4 separate regions of the Homo sapiens genome follow, and regions 1, 3 and 4 are each linked to region 2. Evidence: promoter capture Hi-C in 16 types of primary human blood cells and fetal thymus (Javierre and others, 2016). All regions are on one chromosome and are shown on one strand. Each heading gives the region's core, a stretch centred on a gene start or on the middle of the fragment in contact. The rest is flanking DNA. Distances are from core to core; before and after follow the strand shown. Region 1 has its middle 12 kb from the start of PF4. Region 2 holds the start of PF4V1 (platelet factor 4 variant 1). Region 3 has its middle 30 kb from the start of CXCL8. Region 4 has its middle 11 kb from the start of CXCL8.

Region 1 (5,603 bases), core at 671-3,170, 120 kb after region 2:
ATCTATGACAGTATTGCCTGTCAAGGAGATCAAATCCATTCAGTTAATCTGCCATTTCTCAATGTTAAGAGGGAGCGAAAATATTTTTAAAAAGTTTTAGTTTACATGATGGCCAAAATGGCTGACTGGAAGCAGTTAGTGTGCACTACTTTCACAAAGAGAAGAAAAAGTGGTGAATAAATACTACATCTTCAATTGAAACACCCAGGTGGGCACAAACCCAGGGATTCATCAAACAAACAACTCAACCCAAGGAGAACACAGAGGAGCAAGAATAGATTAATGCCTACCTGACAGTGGCATGGAGCCAGAGGAGGCTCCCCGACCACTGGGAAATGGTGAGAGAATGAGAAACCCTGGGACACACACTTGGTCCATAGATCTTTGCAAGCCCTGGTCTCAGGAGATGCCCTTGTGAGCTCATCCCACAAAAACCTTCAGACTGATATGCAAAGCTATGGGAGTCTCAGCAGAGCCACTGCTGAGGCATAGCCAAAGTCCCAAAAGCCTTTGATCCCCAGGCATTCCAGCATTAGTGGCTTCAGCTCTGGCAAAGGGGGAAGTTAGTCTCCTTTACACACATCCAGGAAAGGAGCCAAATCCAGGGGGTTGAGCAGCAACTGTCTACAGGCTTCACTTACACTGCACCTCACAGGATGAGACCCATTGGTCTAGGACTCCAGCCTCCCACCACTGGGGTTATGAGGCTAGTAGCAGCTCTGCACTTCCCCAGGACAGATCTCCAGGGCAAGGGGGCAGCAACTTTCCTGCCTTGCAGCCCTCACTGTTGTTGCCTTCAGGCTCTGGAGAGCCTACAGTGACTAGGGACTGGCACAAACCCCCAGCACAGCACAGCTGTCCCACAGAAAAATGGCCAGACTCTTTTTTTTATGTGGATCCCACATTTCTCCTCAGTGGATGGGAGCTCCCAACCTGGGACTCCAACCACTTCCCATCAGGGCTCTCAGGTTGGTAGCAGCTCTGCATTTCCATGACACAGAGCCCCTAAAGGGAGTGGTAGGCTGCCATCTTTGCTTTCTCACAGCCCTCACTATTGTTGCCTTCAGGCTCTGGAGAGTATGTGGTGACGAGGGACTAACATGTAACCCTAGCACAGTGCAGCTGCTTCATCAAAAAGTGGCCAGACTGTTTTACATGCAGGTTCTCATCCCAACTTCTCCTTAGTTGGTGAGGCCTCCTAACCTTGGACTCCAGCACAACCACCCTGCCCCCACTTGAACACTTCAGTTGGGGGCAGCTCAGCATTTCTCTGAGGAGGAAATCTCAGAGTCAACCCACAACCTCTTGGCCATTGCAGCTGCAGTAGTACTGCCCTAACCACCTTTCGGCTGAGGAAGGAACAAAGGGCCTAGTCACTTCACTGGCACCCAAGCACTCCACAGCCACCATACAGAGAGGAGTTCAGTCTACCTTCCCTGTGAGCCCCCAGCACCCACTCTTCAGCAGGCAGGGCCCCTGCTCAGGTCCACAGTTTAGATGCCCCACAAACAGCTGAGAATACCCACTGGTAGTGGCTCTGAATTTCCTGGGAAGGGGCTCCAAGAGGCAATCAATGTTCCTTTCTGCCACTGTCACAACAATGTTCTGTCTCTTCTGTTCACAGGCTGGGGAAGAAACTGAGCCTGAGGGCTTCACCCAAGCTTACAGCACACCATAGTCACTATACAGAGAGGAAGCCAGTCTCTCCTCCCTGTAAACCCTCAACCCCCAAGTCCCCAACTAGGAGGGGTCCTCAGCTCAGGCTACCAGTGCAGCCACCTCAACCCCTGGCTGAACATTCCCAGGAACTGTGGCTATATGGTTCTCAGAGGTAGAGTTCCCAGAGGCTACTGAAAACCCCTCTACCACTGCCACTGCAGTGGTACTGCCCTTTCTGCCCTTGCCCTGGGGAATGAGCAAAGACCCTTAGTGCTTCAACTGCACCTTGAGCAAGCATTAATTGCCCTATGGAGAGGTTACTGGTCTGTCTGCCCTCTTTCCCCGCCACTCACTTGTCACAAGGTATGCCTCCCTGGCTTGGGCTCACAGGACAGCTGCCGCAACCCAAGTTGATCACACTGACTGATAGCAGCTCCACACCTCTCAAGATGGAGCCCCAAAAGATAAGTGAAAGACTCTCTATCACAACCACTGCAAAGTTCCTTTCCCCTGTTACCTCTAAGCTTGGGAGGGAACATAAAGCCTGACATTGCCCCAGAGCTGAGATACACAGCCCAGCAGTGTTAAATTGACATCTTCAGCCAGCACTGAAGTGAGAGAGGAACTCTTACTTTCAGAGTGCTGAGAAGGAGCATGGCTATAGTCATGAAGAAATACAGAGAAGCCATGTGACTGAGCAAAAGCTTGCCTACTGGCCATTACACTTAAGTACCACCTACTGGATTGCAGCCCAAAATTTCAACACCAAAAATAATTTGTTAATATACCCTTCTGTGATATCAATGACAAGAATTCAGCTAAAAATAAGGACCCTGCAAAAAGCTTTGGCCCTCTGAAAGCATCTAAAAAAGAAGTCTACTGGTGGTCTTCAATTTATACCACAGTTAAAGGTAAACCCATCCACACAGATGAGAAAGAACAAATAAAAGAACTCTAGCAAATCACAAAGCCAGAGTGTCTTATTCCCTGAAAATGGCTATACTAGTTTCTGAGCAAGGATTCTTAACTGGGCTGAAATAGCTGAAATGACAAAAATAGAATTCAGATTATGGATAGGAATGAAGATCATCGAGATTTGGGAGACCATTAAATAATTCAATACAAAAAATCTAACAATCACAATAAAATAATACAGGAGCTAATAGATTAAATCATATTTTTAAAAAACATCTGATAGAGCTGAAAAATACACTACAAGAATTTTGTAATACAGTCACAAGTATTAGCAGCAGAATAGATCAAGTGGAGGAAAAAAATCTCAGAGCTTGCAGGTTGACTCTGAAATAACTCAGTCAGCCAGAAATAAAGCAAAAACAATAAAAAAGAATGAACAAAATATCAGAGCAACATAGAATAATATGAAGAGACCAAATCTATGACTTATTGGTGTCCCTGAAAGAGCCAGAGAGAAAGCAAGCAACTTGGAAAACACATAATCTTGAGATTCTCTAGTATCAAAATAAAAGAAAAAAATGTCAAAGGCAGATAGAGAGAAAGGTACGGTCACCTACAAAGAGAACTCCATCAGGCTAACAGTGGACCTTTCAGCAGAAACTCTACAAGCCAGAAGAGATTGGGAACCTATATTCAACATTCTTAAAGAAAAAATTTCCAACCAAGAATTTCATATCCAACTAAAATAATCTTCATAAGTGAAGGAGAAATAGAATCCTTTTCAGAGAAGCAATGTTGAGGAAATTCATTACCACCAGGCCTGCCTTAGAAGAGGTCCTGAAAGATGCTCTAAATATGGAAAGAAAATACTCTTACTAGCCACTACAAAAACACACTTAAGTACACAGACCAGTGACACTATAAAGCAAGCACACAAGTCTGCAAAATAACCAGCTGAAAACATGGTGACAGGATCAAATCCATACATATTAACACTAACTTTGAATGTAAATGAGCTAAATGCCCCAATTAAAAGGCCCAGAATGGCAAACTGGTTAAAAAACCAAGATGTATTGGTATGCTGTCTTCAAGAGACACATCTCACATGCAGTGACACACATAGGTGCAAAATAAAGGCATGAAGAAAAATCTACCAAGCAAATTGAAAACAGAAAAAAGCAGGGATAGTAATCCTAATTTCAGACAAAATAGAATTTCAACCAACAAGAATTAAAAAGACAAAGAAGGGTATACATAATGGTAAAAGATTCAATTCAACAAGAACATGTAACTGTCCTAAATACGTATGCACCCAACACAAGACCACCCAGATTGATAAAGTTCTTGGAGACCCAAAAGGTGACCTATATTGTCACACAATAATAGTGGGAGACTTCAACAATCCACTTACAGTTTTAGAACATTGAGGAAGAAAATCGACAAACATATTTAGGAGCTGAACTCAATTCTTGACCAAAGAGACTAAATAGACATCTATAAAACTCTTCACCCAAAACAACAGAATATATATTCTTTTCATTGCCACATGGCACATACTCTAAAATCAACTACACAATCAGACATAAAACAATCCTCAAATATTTTAAAAAATTGAAATAATACCAACCACATTTCTCAGCCAATGGCACAGTAAAAATAGAAATCAATACAAAGAAAGTCACTCTAAATCAGAAAATTACATGGAAATTAAACAATCTGCTCCTGAATGACTTTGGAGTAAATAATGAAACTGAAGCAGAAATCAAGAAGTTCTTTAATAGTAATGAAAACAAAAATAAAACATACCAGAATATCTGGGGCACAGCTAAGGCAGTATTAAGAGGGAAATTTATAGCAGTAAATGCCTACATCAAAAAGTTAGAAAGATCTCAAATTAGCAACCTAACATTGCAGCTAGAAGAAATACAGAGGCGAGAGCAAATCAACCCCAGAGCTAGCAGAAGACAAGAAATAACCAAAATTAAAGCTGACCTGAAAGAAACTGAGACACAGAAAACCATACAATAGATCAAGAAATCTAGAAGTTGTTTTTTTGAAAACTAATAAAATAGATACACCACTAGGTAGAGTAATAAAGAAGAAAAGATAGGAGACCCAAATAAACACAATTAGAGTTAACAAAGGGTACATTACCACTGACCCTGCAGAAATACAGAAAGAAAAATCAAACACTGCTATGAACACCTCTATGCATACAAACTAGAAAATCTAGAAGAAATGGATAAATTCCTGGACACATACACCCTCCCAAGACTAAACCAGGAAAGATTTTAATCCCTAAACAGGCCAATAATAAGTTTCAAAATCAAATCAGTAATAAAAAGTCAACCAATCAAAAAAAGTCAGGACCCAACAGACTCACAGCAGAATTCTACCATGTGTATAAAGAAGAGCTGTTACCATTTCTACCAAAATTATTCGAAAAATACTGAGGGAGGAGCTCCTCTCTAGCTCATTCTATGAGGCCAGCATCATTTGGATACCAAAACCTGACAGAGACACAACAAAAAAAGAAACTTCAGGCCAATATCCTTGATGAACATTGATACAGAAATCCTCAACAAAATACTGGCAAACCAAATCCAGCACACATCAAAAAGCTTATACACCATGATCAAGTAGGCTTTATCCTTGGGATAAAGGATGGGTCAACATATGAAAATCAATAAATGTGATTCATCACATGAACAGAACTAAAGATAAAACCCACATGATTATTCCAATAGATGCAAAAACAGCTTTTGATAAAATTCAATATCTTTTCATGCTAAAAACCCTCAATAAAATAGACATTGAAGGAATATACTTTAAAATAATAATAGCCATCTGTGACAAACCCACAGTCAGCATCACACTGAATGAGCAAAAGCTGGAAGCATTCTCCTTTAAAACAAACACAAGGATGCCCTGTCTTACCACATGTAGTTAACATAGTATTGACCAGAGCAATCAGGCAACAGAAAGAATAAAAGGCATCCAAATAGGAAGAAAGAAAGTTAAACTATCCC
Region 2 (5,445 bases), core at 2,303-4,802:
ATTATAGGAGAAGAAATAATTTCACCTATTCCAACTTGTACGTGGACTTTGGGGAGGTACTCATGTACTAAGCATGTAGTTTACAACTTTTGTGCTATTAAGGAATGCTCTTATTATCTCCTCACCATCATAGGCTCAATACCTTAAAGTGTTTTGTCTATAAAATAAATGTATATATTAAATAATAGCCAAAACGATACATAAATAAACACGTAATAAAGCAGTAAATGCAAATTGCAATTCTTCTCCTTAGTTTTTTTTCTCAATTATTCAAAGTAGCTCAAGCATCTCACTCATATCTGTAGTGTTTTACCACTGAAACTTGTCAACGCCAGCTCCTGAGACATAACACAGTGTTGGCACTACATTTATTCTTCATGAGATGCAGGTATCTCTTATTTTTGTGTGAAGTTATTGAGTTATTCTATTTAGATGCAGAGAAAGGGTAGTTTAGTTGCCACTCGCTGCTGCCTGAATTCCTGTATGCTGCCAATATTGAAATCTCCGGGTAAGATTGTACAGACCTACTATGTTGCCCATTGAAATGTAAAACCATCCCTTTTATTTATTCTCTCCGCTGTTAACTTCAGTTTCAGTTCCATGGAAATGTATGAATTACAATATGTTCTGCCACAGCCATTGAGTTGTACACCAGATGTTTAAAAATACAGTCAAACATTGCTTAACGATGGGGATAAGCTCTGGGAAATGCATCACTAGGCAATTGTTTTCATTGTGTAAACATCATAGAGTGTACTTACAAAAACCTAGTATAGCCTACTACACACCTAGGCCATATGTTATGGCCTATTGCTCCTAAGCTACAAACCTGTACAGTATGCTACTGTATTGAATACTGTAGGCAAATGTAACACAATGATAAGTATTTGTGTGCCTAAATATATTTAAACATAGAAAAGGTACAGTAGAAGTATGCTCAAATAGAAAATGGTAAACCTGTAGAGAGCACTTGCCATGAATGGAGCTTGCAGGACTGGAAGTTGCTCTAGGTGAGTCAGTGAGTGAGTGATCAGCGAATGTGAAGGCCCAGGACATTACAGTCCGATCCTGCAGGCTGTATAAACACTGTACACTTAGGCTACACTAAGTTTCTAAAAAATATTTTTCTTTATTCAATATAAATTAACCTTAGCTTACTGTAACATTTTTATTTTATAAATGTGTTAATTTTCTAAACTTTTTCACTTTCATAATAATACTTCACATAGAATACAAACACACTGTACAGCTATATAAATATATTTTTTCTTTTCTATTCTCATTCTATAAGCTTTTTAATTTTTAATTTTTTCACCTTTTAAATTTTTTTATTGAAAACTAAGACTCCAACATAAAAATTTGCCTATACAAGGTCAGAATCATCAATCACTTTCTTCCACATTCATTTCTTATCTCATGGGCAATAAGACATATGGAGTGGTCATCTTCTAAAATAACAATGTCTTTTTCTGGAATATTTTCTGAAGGGCCTTCCAGAGGCTGATTCATAGTTAACTCTTCTTCCATTAGCAGGAGAAGGAGTTCACTCTAAAATAATGATTAAAGAGTATAATATAGTAAATACACAAACCAGAAACAGTGTTGTTTATTATAATTATCCATTTTTATGTACTGTACATACTTGTATGTCATATACTTTTATGCAACTGGAAGCACAGTAAGTTTGTTTACACCAGCATTACCACAAACACATGAATAATACATTGGCTTGCTATGATTTTACAACAGCTATGGTATCACAAGGCAATAGGAATTTTTTAGCTCCACTATAGTCTTATGGGATCATCATCACTTATACAGTCTATTACTGCCCAAAACGTTGTTATGTGGTGGGTGACTGCACATAAGTCACAGAGAATTGCTATTGAAGAGATCACTATCTTGTGGGAGAGGCAGACAAGTGGACAAATAATTTTGACCATATGTGACACGTGTCAATATAGATGTATGTTCCAATTATATGCTCTAATTGCTCCAATTGAATAGACATAGGAACACGTCAAAGCCTCATCATCATCATTTTCAACACATTATCTTCACTACTGTAGCTACTTTGCACTGAGTCCCTACCAGTACATTGAAATAGTGATAAACGTTATGATATCTAATGTCACAGTGTTTTCCATTTAAGAAACAAAACAATTTTAAACACTTTTAAATACACAGATACACATACACACACATATATATATATATATCTACAATATATGTGTGTGTATGTTTGTGTATTCTGTGAGAAATACGAAGAACAGAGTTCTGCAAGATAGAACAACAAGGGAACACAATTATATATAGCTGTCAGGGAAGGCACACCTGAGGAAGTGATATTTAAGCTGACACCAGAAATATGAATAGGTCTTAGCCAGCTGAATAGGCAGGTGTAGGGAGAGTAGGAGAAAGAATTGCATATTCCTACAAAAATGCAGGTTTGCTGAGCATTAGAATATCAGCTAGTTCCATCCAGTGGGTCCCTGACACCCTTCACCACTGTTAGTCAGAGTGACAGGGAACCTTGGGCTTTGGGTTGAGGGTGTACCTTGCCCTGATCAAGAGCCAAAGTCATTCTTTTTTAGAGAAGAGAAAACGGTCGATATGGATCTCTTCCCCTTTCCCGTGTGGGATTCTGTTGCATCCCCTTCACTGTCACCTCCCATCATTCTCACACCCAACTCCCAGATGCCCTGAATCCTCCCACAGAGAGCATCACTGCTCCCTGCCAACAGTGCAGCCCATCTCACCCTGTCACTGGCAGTGACTGAGGACACAGCAGGCTCTGGAAGACATGGCCTGGCAAACTCTCCTTGTCCTCTCTTCTGGACTATTATTCAGGATTGAAACAATGAAGAAACATCCAGGAGCTAAGTTTTTATAAAAATAATGCATTCAAATATTACTTCTGCAATTTTTCTAAGAGTAACGGGAAATAGATCTTGCATCCTACAGTATACTGGGTGATTGTTGGTGGAGCCTGGTAAATCTCATCCAGAGACTAGGGAAGTTTTCCACATTCAGGTGAAATTCAGAAGAGTCATCACCTAGAGACCAAATTAAACTTATTAGTATTAGAAAACAATTGCAAATAGCACACTCTTCAAACACACAGCCATCAAACTCAATGGTAATCAAGACTGAAGTTAGGAGCATATGGGCAGTTCTTGAGTTGAGAAGGAAACAAGAACTGTCTGGGTCCTGAAGCCACCTGCTGTGTAAGTTGCTTGGTGACTACAGAGAACTCTACTATGATACAACACAGAAAATATTTCTCTTCTAAGATGCAAGTAGTGTTTCTAACTCCACAAATGTAAGTGTATATAAACTGAGGTTGGAGGTATGCATCTTTGTACCACCTCCTAGCCAAGGCAGCTGCCCCCAGCCTTTTGTTTTGTAATCTTGGCTGGCCAGAGTCTGAGTCTTCATAGCAGTGTCTTAGCTCCTGCACCACAGTTCCTCGCTGTCCACCCCAGGCTTCCGGACTGGAAGGACAGTGGGACAGTGACGGGGGATAAAAGAAGCCTGGTGAGGCCAGGAGTCACTGCCTGCAGAACCCCAGCCCGACTTTCCCTGCGCACTGGGATCCTGCTGGAACCTCAGCTGCAACATGAGCTCCGCAGCCAGGTCCCGCCTCACCCGCGCCACCCGCCAGGAGATGCTGTTCTTGGCGTTGCTGCTCCTGCCAGTTGTGGTCGCCTTCGCCAGAGGTGAGAGCAGAAACCAGGCTGGGAGGGCCAGCAGCGGCGAGGGGGAGTCCGGGAAGCCCTGGGGCTGGGGAGGAATCCTCTAGGATCATGATCGCAGCTGCTCTTATTGCGCGCGTGCTGAGTCTGCGGGTACAGTGCCAGGCACTGCACGTGCACCTCGCCACCTGATCAGCACAACCTCTGTCTGAGAGAGGTCTGATTTACGGCTAAGGAAAAGAAAGCTGAAGGTAGTGGAAAAGGTCCCTAAAGTATCTCTGGCTACTCAGGGAGTCACAACTCCCACCCCTCCTCCTCTCTTACTCCCTCCCTTTCCCCCTCAGCTGAAGCTGAAGAAGATGGGGACCTGCAGTGCCTGTGTGTGAAGACCACCTCCCAGGTCCGTCCCAGGCACATCACCAGCCTGGAGGTGATCAAGGCCGGACCCCACTGCCCCACTGCCCAACTCATGTGAGTCCTCGCACTGCATCAGTTAGTGCTCCCGCTCCGTGCCTCCTCTGCCCATCCCTCCCCCTTCTAATGCCATTTGCAAACCCAAGGACTGAAAGTCACGTCTCTTCTCTTTTCCCTGCCAGAGCCACGCTGAAGAATGGGAGGAAAATTTGCTTGGATCTGCAAGCCCTGCTGTACAAGAAAATCATTAAGGAACATTTGGAGAGTTAGCTACTAGCTGCCTAAGTGTGCACTTTCAATCTAACTGTGAAAGAATCTTCTGATGTTTGTATTATCCTTCTTATATTATATTAACGAAATAAATCAAGTTGTGGTATAGTCAATCTATTTCTTAATAATACTGCAAAAATAATGCTGACACATCACAATTTCATATTTTAAAATTTCCAGAATTTTAAGCAAAAAGCATTATGAAGGAAGGCTTGGTTTAATAAAGACTGATTTTGTTCAGTGTTATATGTTAGCTGATACATATTTGTTCATTTATGTGATTGCAGTACTTTATAGCTACATATTTACCTTGAATGTTACAATTAGCTTGCCAATAAATATTAGTAGCTCTTAAGCATTACTCGACAGCTTTTTTTTTTTTCAATGAAGTAAATAAGCAACACTCTGCTTTTATCCCCACAAATTCCTTAACATTGGTGATATTAAGATTCTGGGAACTAAGAGAAGTGTGAGGTAATATTTTCATTCATCCTTTAGGAAGACATTGCTCTACACTGGGGAGAAATGAAGGTGTTATAATGTGGGCATATTAGTTTCCTGTTGCTTCTGTAAGAAATTACCACAAACTCAGTGGCTTAACCAACACAAATTTATCGTCTTGTAATTCTAGGGGTCTCAAGTCCAAAGTAAGTCTTAAAGGTTAAACTCAAGCTGTCCTCAGAGCTGTATTCCTTCTGAAGGCTCTAGAAGAGAATCTACTTCCTCTCCTTTTTCACCAGCATTCCTTGCCTCATAGCCCTTTCTCCAGTCTTCAACCTGCATCACACCAACCTCTACTTCTCCTCTGTCTCTGCTGACTCTTCTACCTTTTATATCCGGCTTACCTCTCATAAGGAGGCGTGTGAATACATTGGGCTCACTTGGATAATTCAGAAACGCTTTCCAACTCAAGTTCTCTAATACATCTGCAAAGATATATATATATATATATATATATATATATATATATATATATATATATATTTTTTTTTTTTTTTTGCCATGTTAAGCAACACATTCATAGTGTCCAGAGAGTAGAACACAAGGATCTCAGGGGTGGGGGGCA
Region 3 (4,866 bases), core at 1,158-3,657, 82 kb before region 2:
TGCATCTTTCAAGTCCTTCATGGTGGCACTGATCTCTGCAATCTCTTCAGGGATGCAATATTGTTTTGACTTACTATTTTTTTAGGTAGAGGCAGCTCTAATGGCTTCCATTTGAGCTGCCTTTCATTTTCCACCATAATAACCCTCACCCTACCAGTCAGGGAGCCAATGTGGGGATTCTACCAGCTGCTAAGTATGTCTATGCGAATTATGGATTCTGGCACTGGGGAAATAACCACAGGATGAGTCTGGGTACCCATTGGACTGACTGGAAGTGGGACATTAGCTAAAACTCCATACATTACCTGACCTACATAAGCCCCTACTTTAACTGGAGGACCACAGTGGCATTTTGGGTTCCCTGGAATGAATGTCAGCTAAGAGCCAGTGACCAGTATTCCCCAAATAATCTGATCATTTTCCTTTCTGCAATGCACAGAAAGGCTACAAGAGGTGAACCCCAGAGGCCCCTCTAGCAATGGAGCCAGCTCCCTCTTGCCTGCTCCTCTTGGTCCACCCCATCCTCCCTATCCAGTTTATCTCTCCTGTTTGCTCCCTCCTAGAAATCCTCACCCTAGATAAGCCCCAGTCCCACTCTTGCCCCTCCAACAGATGCCTGGTGAATTTGGTCCCTGGTAAGATCCAGGTCCCTTTCCCTCTAAAGGACTTAAGGCCAATTAAGGGGGATCTTGGCAAGTTTTCACATGATGCTGACAGATGTATAGAGGCTTTCCAGAACTTAACTCAAGTATTTGAACTCTCCTGGGAAGATGTTATGCTACTTTTGAATCAAAGCCTGACTAACACTGAGAAGCAGGCTACTCTGCAAGTGGCAGAGAGATTTGGGGAATGAGCTTTCTATTACATACAGTGTCAGGGAAGGGGTCAAACTTTATCCAACTAGAAGAGAAGCAGTACCGTTGGATAACCCTAAATGGGATCTCACTGACAAGATGGGAGAATGGAAGAGGAGACACATTCAGGTGTGCATAATGGAGGGATTATGTAGGACTAGAACTAAGCTTCTCAATTATTCTAAGTTATCCATGATAGACCAGGTATTTGATGAGAATCCCACTGCTCTCCTGGAAAGGTTAAAAGAGGCCTTGGTGAAGCACAACTCTCTACTTCCTGATTCAGTTAAGGGACAACTAATCCTAAAGGATAAATTTATTACTCAGGCAGCCCCTGAGATCAGGAGGAAGCTGCAGAAACAGGCCCTGGGACCAGATAGTACTTTAGAGAACCTCCTGAAAGCAGCCACCTGTCTTTTACAATAGGTCACTGGAATAGATTCTTGAATTTATTACACCCATGTAAATGCCTGGGAAGCTGATGAACCCAAAGAGTACCCAAAGTACCAATATGAAGAGGTTGGGGACCTCAAGCTAAAAATTACAAAAGATAAGTGTTAAACTTCCATGGATATCCTCTTTATAGTCTTGCCTATGTTCGCTGTTTTTACCTTTATTCTGTTCTATACTGCAGGATACAATATTGTGTCTAGAAGGAATAGTATATTTTACTTCTTATTTCTGTAAACTTTGTCACCAGATTATCTCCTTTTAACCCCGTTTTGTATAATACATATATTTGATCCATGCAAACTTATCCCTGTAAAACTTGTTTCTTCTCACCTAAAGGCGATCAAATTCCAAAGGGTCATGTAACTGGAGCCTCGGACAATGGCTCCCTTTTACCAGAGGCCCTTAGGTAAACCTCTGAGGGAAATCTGACCACTGTTTTCTTCAAAACAGTGTCCCCAGTAAGCAGAAAGTAGCTAAGATCGGTCATTGTCTGTATTCTAATGGCAGTGAGATGTTCCGCTTTGAAAAGGGAAATGATGGGGAAAGGAGGCAGAGAAATTCTAGGTAAAAAAGGGCAGGTCCCTGGTGAAGCCCTATCCTCAAGCTGAAAAGCCCGAGACCATGGCCAAAGTGAGAACTGTTTTCCCATGCGAACTTTGCCTTTTCCTAAGTCACCCATGACCCTGCCCCACCCCATCCTGTGCCTATAATGACTCCAGACTCAGCCAGCAGAGGGAAGAAGCAGCTGGACCTTGGGGACTACAGCTAGACATTGGAGAGAAGTGGCTTGACTTCAGAGGGATGGCTTGACCACGTAACTTTGGAGAAGAATCCTGCTGAACATGGCTGGACTTCAGGGGAAGATTACTTCCCCTTTTCAGCTCTCTTTCCCACTGAGAGCCACTTTCATTGGCAATAAAATCTCCCACATTTACCATCCTTTAAATCATTCATGCGACATCATTTTCCGTGGACACCTGACAACAGCTTGGGAGCCACAAGTGTGAATACAAAAGGCTTCATACTGGCCCTTTTCCCTCGCTGGCAGAAGGCAGCCACCTCACATGAAAAGAAAGAAGTCCCACTGAACTATTAACATTTTAGCTGTCTGTGGATGGGAGAGCTAAAAGAATACTGTAACATGTCCTCTGGGACTTCAGGGGTCACAGGCACCATCCCATTGATGCTGCTGCAAAGCCCACATGGAGTTTGCTCCTGCCAGTGCCTAAATGTGCTTGCCCTGGCTCCTGCACTCGCTCACCTGTGCACTCCCTCCTGAAAGGGGTGGAACACAGCAGGTGCAAGTGAGTGGAGTTTGCTCCTGCTGGCACCAAAGCAGCCAGCTGGTTCCAGGGCTCATGCAATCCAGTTCCTGCCTCATTTGATAGCGTGCTCCCTCCCACAAGAGTTGAAAGCTGCTGACTGAGTAAATGAGGCACCTCTGTTGTGAGTCCTGTGAAAGGGTCAGGGAAATATTCTTCTTCACTACCAAAAGACATGCTTTCATGAGTAGGCTGACAGAACTATTAGGGAGGATAGTTTTATTTCTTCATGCGTTTTCTGGGAATCCTTGCTACTTGTGGCATATACATGAGATGGTTTCTCTGTGTCCTTGCATTGGCCATCTCCACCTTAGTGAAGCCAGGTCTGCACCGTTCCTTATTATGATTTCTTTTTCTTCCCTTTTTGACACAGTAAGATCACCTGGATGTTGCTCAAAATGATGGCATGTAATAATTTTTAAACATTTGGAGATCAGATGAGATTGGGTGTGTTCAGGATGTATGGCCATAGAGAAGACAAGATATATAATAAATATTATATATTGTATCTTAGATATATGTATCAACTATGTTGATCTATTATCTATCATCTATCTTTCAAGAATAGAAAATTTATCTTGAACCCACTCCTCTCAAAAAAGAAGTGTGTCAATAAATGTTCAGAAACAATGGTGAGCATGTACCATTTTGTTGATAAAATATGTTTTATCTAATTCAGTAGTGCAAGCTATTATTGTCTCTACCACCTCACATGTCCACATGATAAGAAGCAGTCTGAATAGCTGATGTTAATGTGCCTCAAATTAATTCATGCATTCTTCTTAGGGACTCCTGGTGAGAGTAAAGAAGTGCTATTTATTGAACACCAACAGTGAACACTGTGCTAAGTGCTGTATTACAAGGGTGTAGGATCATTGTTGTCCATGCTCTTACAGGATAAATAAAAATAAAGCAGTATGGCAGGAACACAGAGAGGAGAGCTCTGACCTTTGACTCAGGAGCCTTCACTGGTTCCACACACATCACTTAGTGAATAATAATTAAGGTATCTTGAGTGACTCTTCATGAAACAGTTGTAAAACACTGTGTTTCTTAAAACTTTCCCCCACTGACTTATGTATTTATTGCTAATTTGTCAAAATCGTCTTCCACTTTGGAAATATAAATAGTTAGTACAACTTTACTAATTTATGCTATTTTTAGAAAGCTTCGAAATAGCACCAATTTACTACAAGGACTATGCTGGGGGCTAAACTTTTCCCCTATTCCTAAATTCATATGTTAAAGTCTTCAACCCGAGTGCCTCAGAATGAATCTCAGACAATATCGCAAATTTTATGATCCTCTAAAAATATTCCACTTGAATTTTCTATGCAGGCTTTAAAAAATTATTGTTATATCACTGTGAATTGTCTATACTTTGTTAATTTGGATAGATTTTCTGAGTTCCTGAATTTATTTTTGTGACTTTGTACTAATATAGTCACAAAGCAATATATCACAAGCATTTATGTGGAGATATTTTGAGAACTTGAAAGAAGTTTCAGTTCCCTAACATCCAGGAATAAACAATAATTAAGTAATTTTAATGTGTCTGGGTCATTGGGGTTGTAGAAAGAATATAGAAAAAGTTAAGAATGCATTAAAGATTGTCTATATTTTCTCTTTTCACTTGGAATAAACCTAACTAAATGCTAAATATATTTTAAGTAGATACGTCTTTCTGGATAATTCATGTTGTATTAAGGATTATTATATATACCCAGTAAATTTAATTCCTAATATCCTGGGCCCCCAAACATACAGGAAATAAAGATATATAACCTCCCTAAGTGTGTGTTATCTATGTATTTTTATCTACTTATAAAAATTCTTGCTTCATTATGACAATAGTAAAATAATGTATTGTAGGCATTTGTTTTTTTTAAATTTTGATTTTAAAATAATATTAGATTTAAAGAAGAGTTGTAAAAATTGTACAGACTTCACTTATACACATTTCACTTAACGTCTAATGTTAACATCTTTTATAATCATGGTATATTTATCAAAACTAATATCATATCATCTCTCTTTCTGTCTATCTTCTTTTTTTTTTAGGAAACAGGGTCTCTCTCGTTGCTCAGGCTGGAGTGCAGTGGCATGATTCTGTTCACTGCAGCCTCAAACTCCTCGGCTGAAACAATCCTCCTGCCTGAGGGATGATAAGACTACAAGTGCACACTACCATGCCTGGCTAATTTTTTATTTTTTGTGTGAAATAGAGTCTCATTATG
Region 4 (4,984 bases), core at 1,842-4,341, 100 kb before region 2:
TAAAGATTTTAATACATCATAACAAACAATACAACTTAATAACTGAATACAACTTAAATAACTGAAGATCAATTAATGAAACTCACAAGCATTGACAAATGATATTAAGGTAGTAAAGGAGAAAAAACTTGATCATCTCAATGGATTCAGAAATAACCTGGGATATGACTTAACATCCAATCATTTTAAAGAAAAAAAATCCTCTAGGAATGAGAGGAAACTACTTTAAACCTATAAAAGTTACAATAAAACAAACAAAAATCACAGCATACTCAAGACTTAAGAGTTAATTTAAAAATAGTAATATATACAATTGAAGCAAAACAGGTTTCCATTATCACCACTTCCATTCAATTTTTTATTGAAAGTCCTGGGCAATGCAGGAAGATAGGAACAAAGATATTAAAAAGTAACAATTGGGAAAGAAAAAAATAAAAGGTAGAACTCAAAAGATTATATAAAGATAATTGATTAACTTTAAACAATTTTGCTGGGTATGAAAACAATTTATAAAAACAAATTGCTTCTCTGTATACCAGGAACAATTAGAAAAGGCAGCTTAAAGCATACTATATAAACTAGCATCATCATTTAAATCAACAAGAAATAAATCTAACAAAGCTGTGTAAGAAATGTGTGAAGAATATTATTATACTTTATTAAATCCCCAAGATTGGAGATCATCCTATAAAAACCCTAGAAGACAACTTAGGCAATACCATCTTGGACGTAGGAGTGGGCAAAGATTTCATGACAAAGATAACAAAAGCAATCTCAACGAAAGCAAATGTTGACAAACGATATCTAATTAAACTTAAGAGCTTCTGTGCAGCAAGAGAAACTATCAACAGAGTAGACAGAGGGTGGAGGGTGGGAGGAGGGAGAGGAGCAGAAAAGGTAATTATTAGGTACTAGGCTTAATACCTGGGTGATGAAATAATCTGTCTAACAAACCCCCATGACAGGAGTTCACCTATGTAACAAACCTGCCCACATCCCCTGGAACCTAAAATAAAAGTTACAAAAAAAGTCATCAAAGGAAACCTAAAAATAAGGTAAATATAACATGTTGCATGAATTGGAAATAAATCTTGTAAAACAGATGTCACTTATTTCCCAATTAATTTACAGATCCAATGAAGTTCTAATATAATTTCCAAAATCTATGTATGTAATTTGTCAAGACGATTTTAAAATTTGTCTTGAAGTGAAAGGTTCAAGAATATCTGAGACATCTTTGAAGAAGAACAAGTTGAGACACACTCTTATTAAAGCATTGGGGTCTCATTCCCAGTAGCCTTTAGAGAAAATTATAGCTGTTAGCCTTGACGGGAAGAGTTAGACGAGGTGGCTTATTGAATTGATTCAAAGCCAATCAATCTATGTGAAAACACTGGTATTAGTAAGACATCTAAAGACTGCAAGGAAGACATAGGCTGAGATACTTTCATTAATCAGGTTTGCATATTCCAGATGATCTGAAGTCACAAAGGGTTCCCTCTTTCTTTCGTATTTAGAAAATATGCTATAGGACATTTAGAGTGAGGAAGAAAGTCTTCTCTTATTTTCTCACTAGTTAGTTCACATTGCAACCTGCTTTTCCTATGTCATTTAGCTTCTTAACAATTGCTCTGGGTACCTATAGTTGCTATTATCTCTCTGGTCTCTTTTATAACTCCCAGTGCATATTAACACATAGGTATTCAGCATAATAGAATCAATGCAAGATTTAAAAGTGACACACCAGTAGGAACCAACTGAAAATTCTACCTGGTATTCGCTGTTTAGAAACAACTTCGTTGTTTCCCTTTAGAAGAGGATTTTTTCCTGCCTATATTTCTTCTCTTGCTATGTTGCGGGGCTTCTTTTTCTTCAGGGTTCTGCCTAATCTTCGTTTCCATATTCTCCTCTTCACATTCAAGATCCCTTGTCCCACTCCCATTTTTCAGTTTCTCATCTTGTGTATCTCATTGATAAGTAAATAAAACAGATAGAAATAAGTAAGTTTAATAAAATATTGCTAGGAGATGTACCAAAGTTATTTGCATGAAAGTTGATCATATGAATTGGATCATTTTTGTCACTCAACTAAAACAGAGTTGGGAGGCCAGGGAGGGGGTGGGGTGGGGGGAAAGCACCCAGCACAAAACATTGCTCAAAAGATGTAATTCTCTGCAAGCTGGGCAGCTAAAGCTGCCTGCTATAACCTGAAACCAGTTTGATCTAACTGCTGAAAGCTGCTCAAACTCTCTGACTAGTTTTGCCCACTGCTGTCACTTACCTATCAGAGTTTGCTAGAACCTTAAAATCTTACTAGTGCTAATGAAATTTCTCAAAGAGCAATATGTAACATTTTCCCATTTCATAAAATCTTGAACCTTCTCCTTGTTATCCAGAAAGCACACTTCCACTTGTACTAAAAAGCATGCCTCCCCAATCTATAGATTTAAAAAAATTATAAAAAATAAAGCTCTACTCCTTTCCCTCTACAGATCTCATGGTCTTTGGTTAACATTTGGAAGCAGGCAAGCAGGGGTTATCTAATCTAACTAGCCTAGATTTCCATGAGAACGTTTAGAGTCTGAAGCATGAGTAGGAGTTAGCCACACAAAGGGAAGAAGAATGTGTAGGAAAGGAGTCTAGACAGTGAGAAAAAGTAATGTGTAGGCAAGAGCTTGATATGATTTAAGAAGTGAAAGAATTTCAGTATGACTAGAGTTTGGCGTGAAACAGAACAAGTGCTAACAGCTAAAGCTAAGACAATAGACAATACATTGCTCTAAAGGGCTTAGAGTTAGAATGGAAAACTTCTAGTGCACTCCAATTTGCCTAATTTTGAGTTGTGAACACTACATGCCATTCTTCCTCCGAGGTGTTTCCAGATGGAAGTGGGAGGCCACAAAAGCAACCTAAAGTGCTTAATCTTAGAAACTTCTTCGTGCCATTTGGAGATTGAATCAAAGAACTAACTTCTGACTCTAAACAAAACCTCTTAATGTGAGGTTTTAACATCATATTAATATCATCAGTATCCAACCCTAAAAGCAAAATGAGAATATCTGTACCAATTCAGTGTATCTTAATAATGAATACTTTTAAGCACTACCTCTCAATTCCATCTTTATCACCTTTAAAATATGCCAGATTATTTCTTTACTTTCTCATCTATATTGTCACTGTCTACAAGACAGTGAAGTATTCCATCTAAAAGGCAATCAAGTAGGTCAAATTGAAAATGTGCCATCATGTAAATAAGCCAAAAAAAGGAAAAATGAAAAAGAGAGGGAGAATGTGAGCATGTGAGTGAGAGAGAAAGGTCAAGCAATTTGCTGAATTAACATTTTTTGCTTTATTTTTCTTCAATGATAATAGTAATGTATATAAGGATGTATATAGATAGTTGTATATGTATAGTTATGTATACAAATATGTATTTATTTGTATAGACCCAGCCTTAGAAACAAACTACATGAAAGATATATTATCACATACCGTTGATCCATTTGTGTGATCTTAAATCACTTGTCTAATTTTACTGAATAGAAGCATGAATTTAAATATACAGAAACACACAAAATAAAAGATATATAAAGATAATAAAGTGTTCACCCTAAAATTGCATTACATGTAAAATACCATAATACATATGTTGTACATACAACATACAAAATCAAGAATTTTCATAAATGACATTTGTTTTGCTAGAAATGCATCCAGAAATAGATTCATCAGTTGAAGTACCTAGGCAAAAATATTTTATTTTCAAGATTTTGTTAAATAAGTAATAATTTTTTATTACAATACACCTATTTTTACATTCAGTTTATATTTCAAAACTTGAGAAGGATAAAAAATTATTTTGCTTTTGGCTTGTGATAATAATACAGCAAGTGAAAATTGCGTAAGAATGTACTAACTCTGCAATAACAACAAAAAGTCTAAGAAACCAGTCATTTCTCCATTATTCACTTTAAAAGACGTCCAGATAGCAATTGTCTCAAGTTTGGTAACCATCAGCTGAGTTTGCTGAAAACACAGACAACAGATAGAAACTTTTCCAATGCATCAGAGTAAATCGACAATTCCATCTCACAAGATTTTCAAAACAGAAAATCAAGAATCCTCTAAATGATTACTTAAGTCAAAGAATCCAGCTCTTACAATGAATGGAGAAAGAGGGATTTCTATGTACTTTGCATTCCATAAAAATTAAATTAAATAGATACACAAAGGTATCTCTTGATGAAAAACAAAGATATGAAAACATTCACAGAAGTTTCCACCCAAAGTTTGTTTCAGATGTATCTGGATGAATGTTCCAATAACTTTGTAAAAGATTATAGTGCAACAGATGAGAATAAACTTAAGGTATCAAGCAATTGTATTTCATAGGGGATAGTTTACCTTACATTTTAATCATGTTGTGATATGATTCCACTATCTAAATAGATCCTAAATTAGGATCACTAATTAGATCCTAATTTAATCTGCCACTTACTGCATGCTACTTTGCCTTTACACTTTCATTTTTAGTGTTCCTCTAAATGAAGCATTTGTGGGGAAACTATTCTATAAGTAGATACTTCTGCTTAGATTTATTTTTTCTATATGCTTCCAAAGGTATCCACCATGCCTCTTACAGGAATCCCATTTTGAAACATGTTATTAAAGAGACAACTCATTTCTAGTCACCTCTCTGCAGGTCTCCAGCAGCTCTGCTATGACGTAGGTGAATCATCCTTCTCCCCAACTTGTTTTATTTTCCTTAGTATGTGCTAGTCATGTTTTGTGAAAAACTCATTCCTAAACTTTCTTGTTTAGGAAACAAGAAATATTTTGTTATTATTGAGCTCATTGAAAAATTTCTGAATATTAAAAAATATCATATTCCAAGATCTTTTTGTAAATCTTAAATGAGCCTTAGAGTTGGTGAAGGACATTTGTAAAATATAATGCTTTATTCTGAAGAGAGAGGAAAATCTTA

What was found. Contacts are between HindIII fragments. The CHiCAGO score rates a contact against its expected background, and 5 or more counts as called.
Region 1: a contact is called between a fragment that was not itself captured here and the fragment with the promoter of PF4V1 in region 2, in 1 of 17 cell types (neutrophils). The highest score is 5.5, in neutrophils.
Region 3: a contact is called between a fragment that was not itself captured here and the fragment with the promoter of PF4V1 in region 2, in 2 of 17 cell types (neutrophils and M1 macrophages). The highest score is 17.7, in neutrophils.
Region 4: a contact is called between a fragment that was not itself captured here and the fragment with the promoter of PF4V1 in region 2, in 1 of 17 cell types (neutrophils). The highest score is 11.1, in neutrophils.

Annotation. Positions count from the first base shown.
Region 1 is chr4:73,967,509-73,973,111 of GRCh38, forward strand. No RefSeq gene overlaps it. Among named protein-coding and RNA genes, the nearest start is that of PF4, 12 kb to the right of the region's middle. RefSeq lists an enhancer at 370-871. The HindIII fragment of the contact is 522 bases long and covers 1,660-2,181 here.
Region 2 is chr4:73,849,744-73,855,188 of GRCh38, forward strand. It overlaps PF4V1 (platelet factor 4 variant 1), which reads left to right and starts at 3,553. Exons shown (of 3, transcript NM_002620.4): 1 at 3,553-3,719; 2 at 4,040-4,166; 3 at 4,292-4,740. The coding sequence starts at 3,620. The coding sequence ends at 4,379. The HindIII fragment of the contact is 5,836 bases long and covers 1,290-5,445 here.
Region 3 is chr4:73,768,458-73,773,323 of GRCh38, forward strand. No RefSeq gene overlaps it. Among named protein-coding and RNA genes, the nearest start is that of CXCL8, 30 kb to the left of the region's middle. The HindIII fragment of the contact is 2,775 bases long and covers 1,021-3,795 here.
Region 4 is chr4:73,748,697-73,753,680 of GRCh38, forward strand. No RefSeq gene overlaps it. Among named protein-coding and RNA genes, the nearest start is that of CXCL8, 11 kb to the left of the region's middle. The HindIII fragment of the contact is 9,638 bases long and covers 1-4,984 here.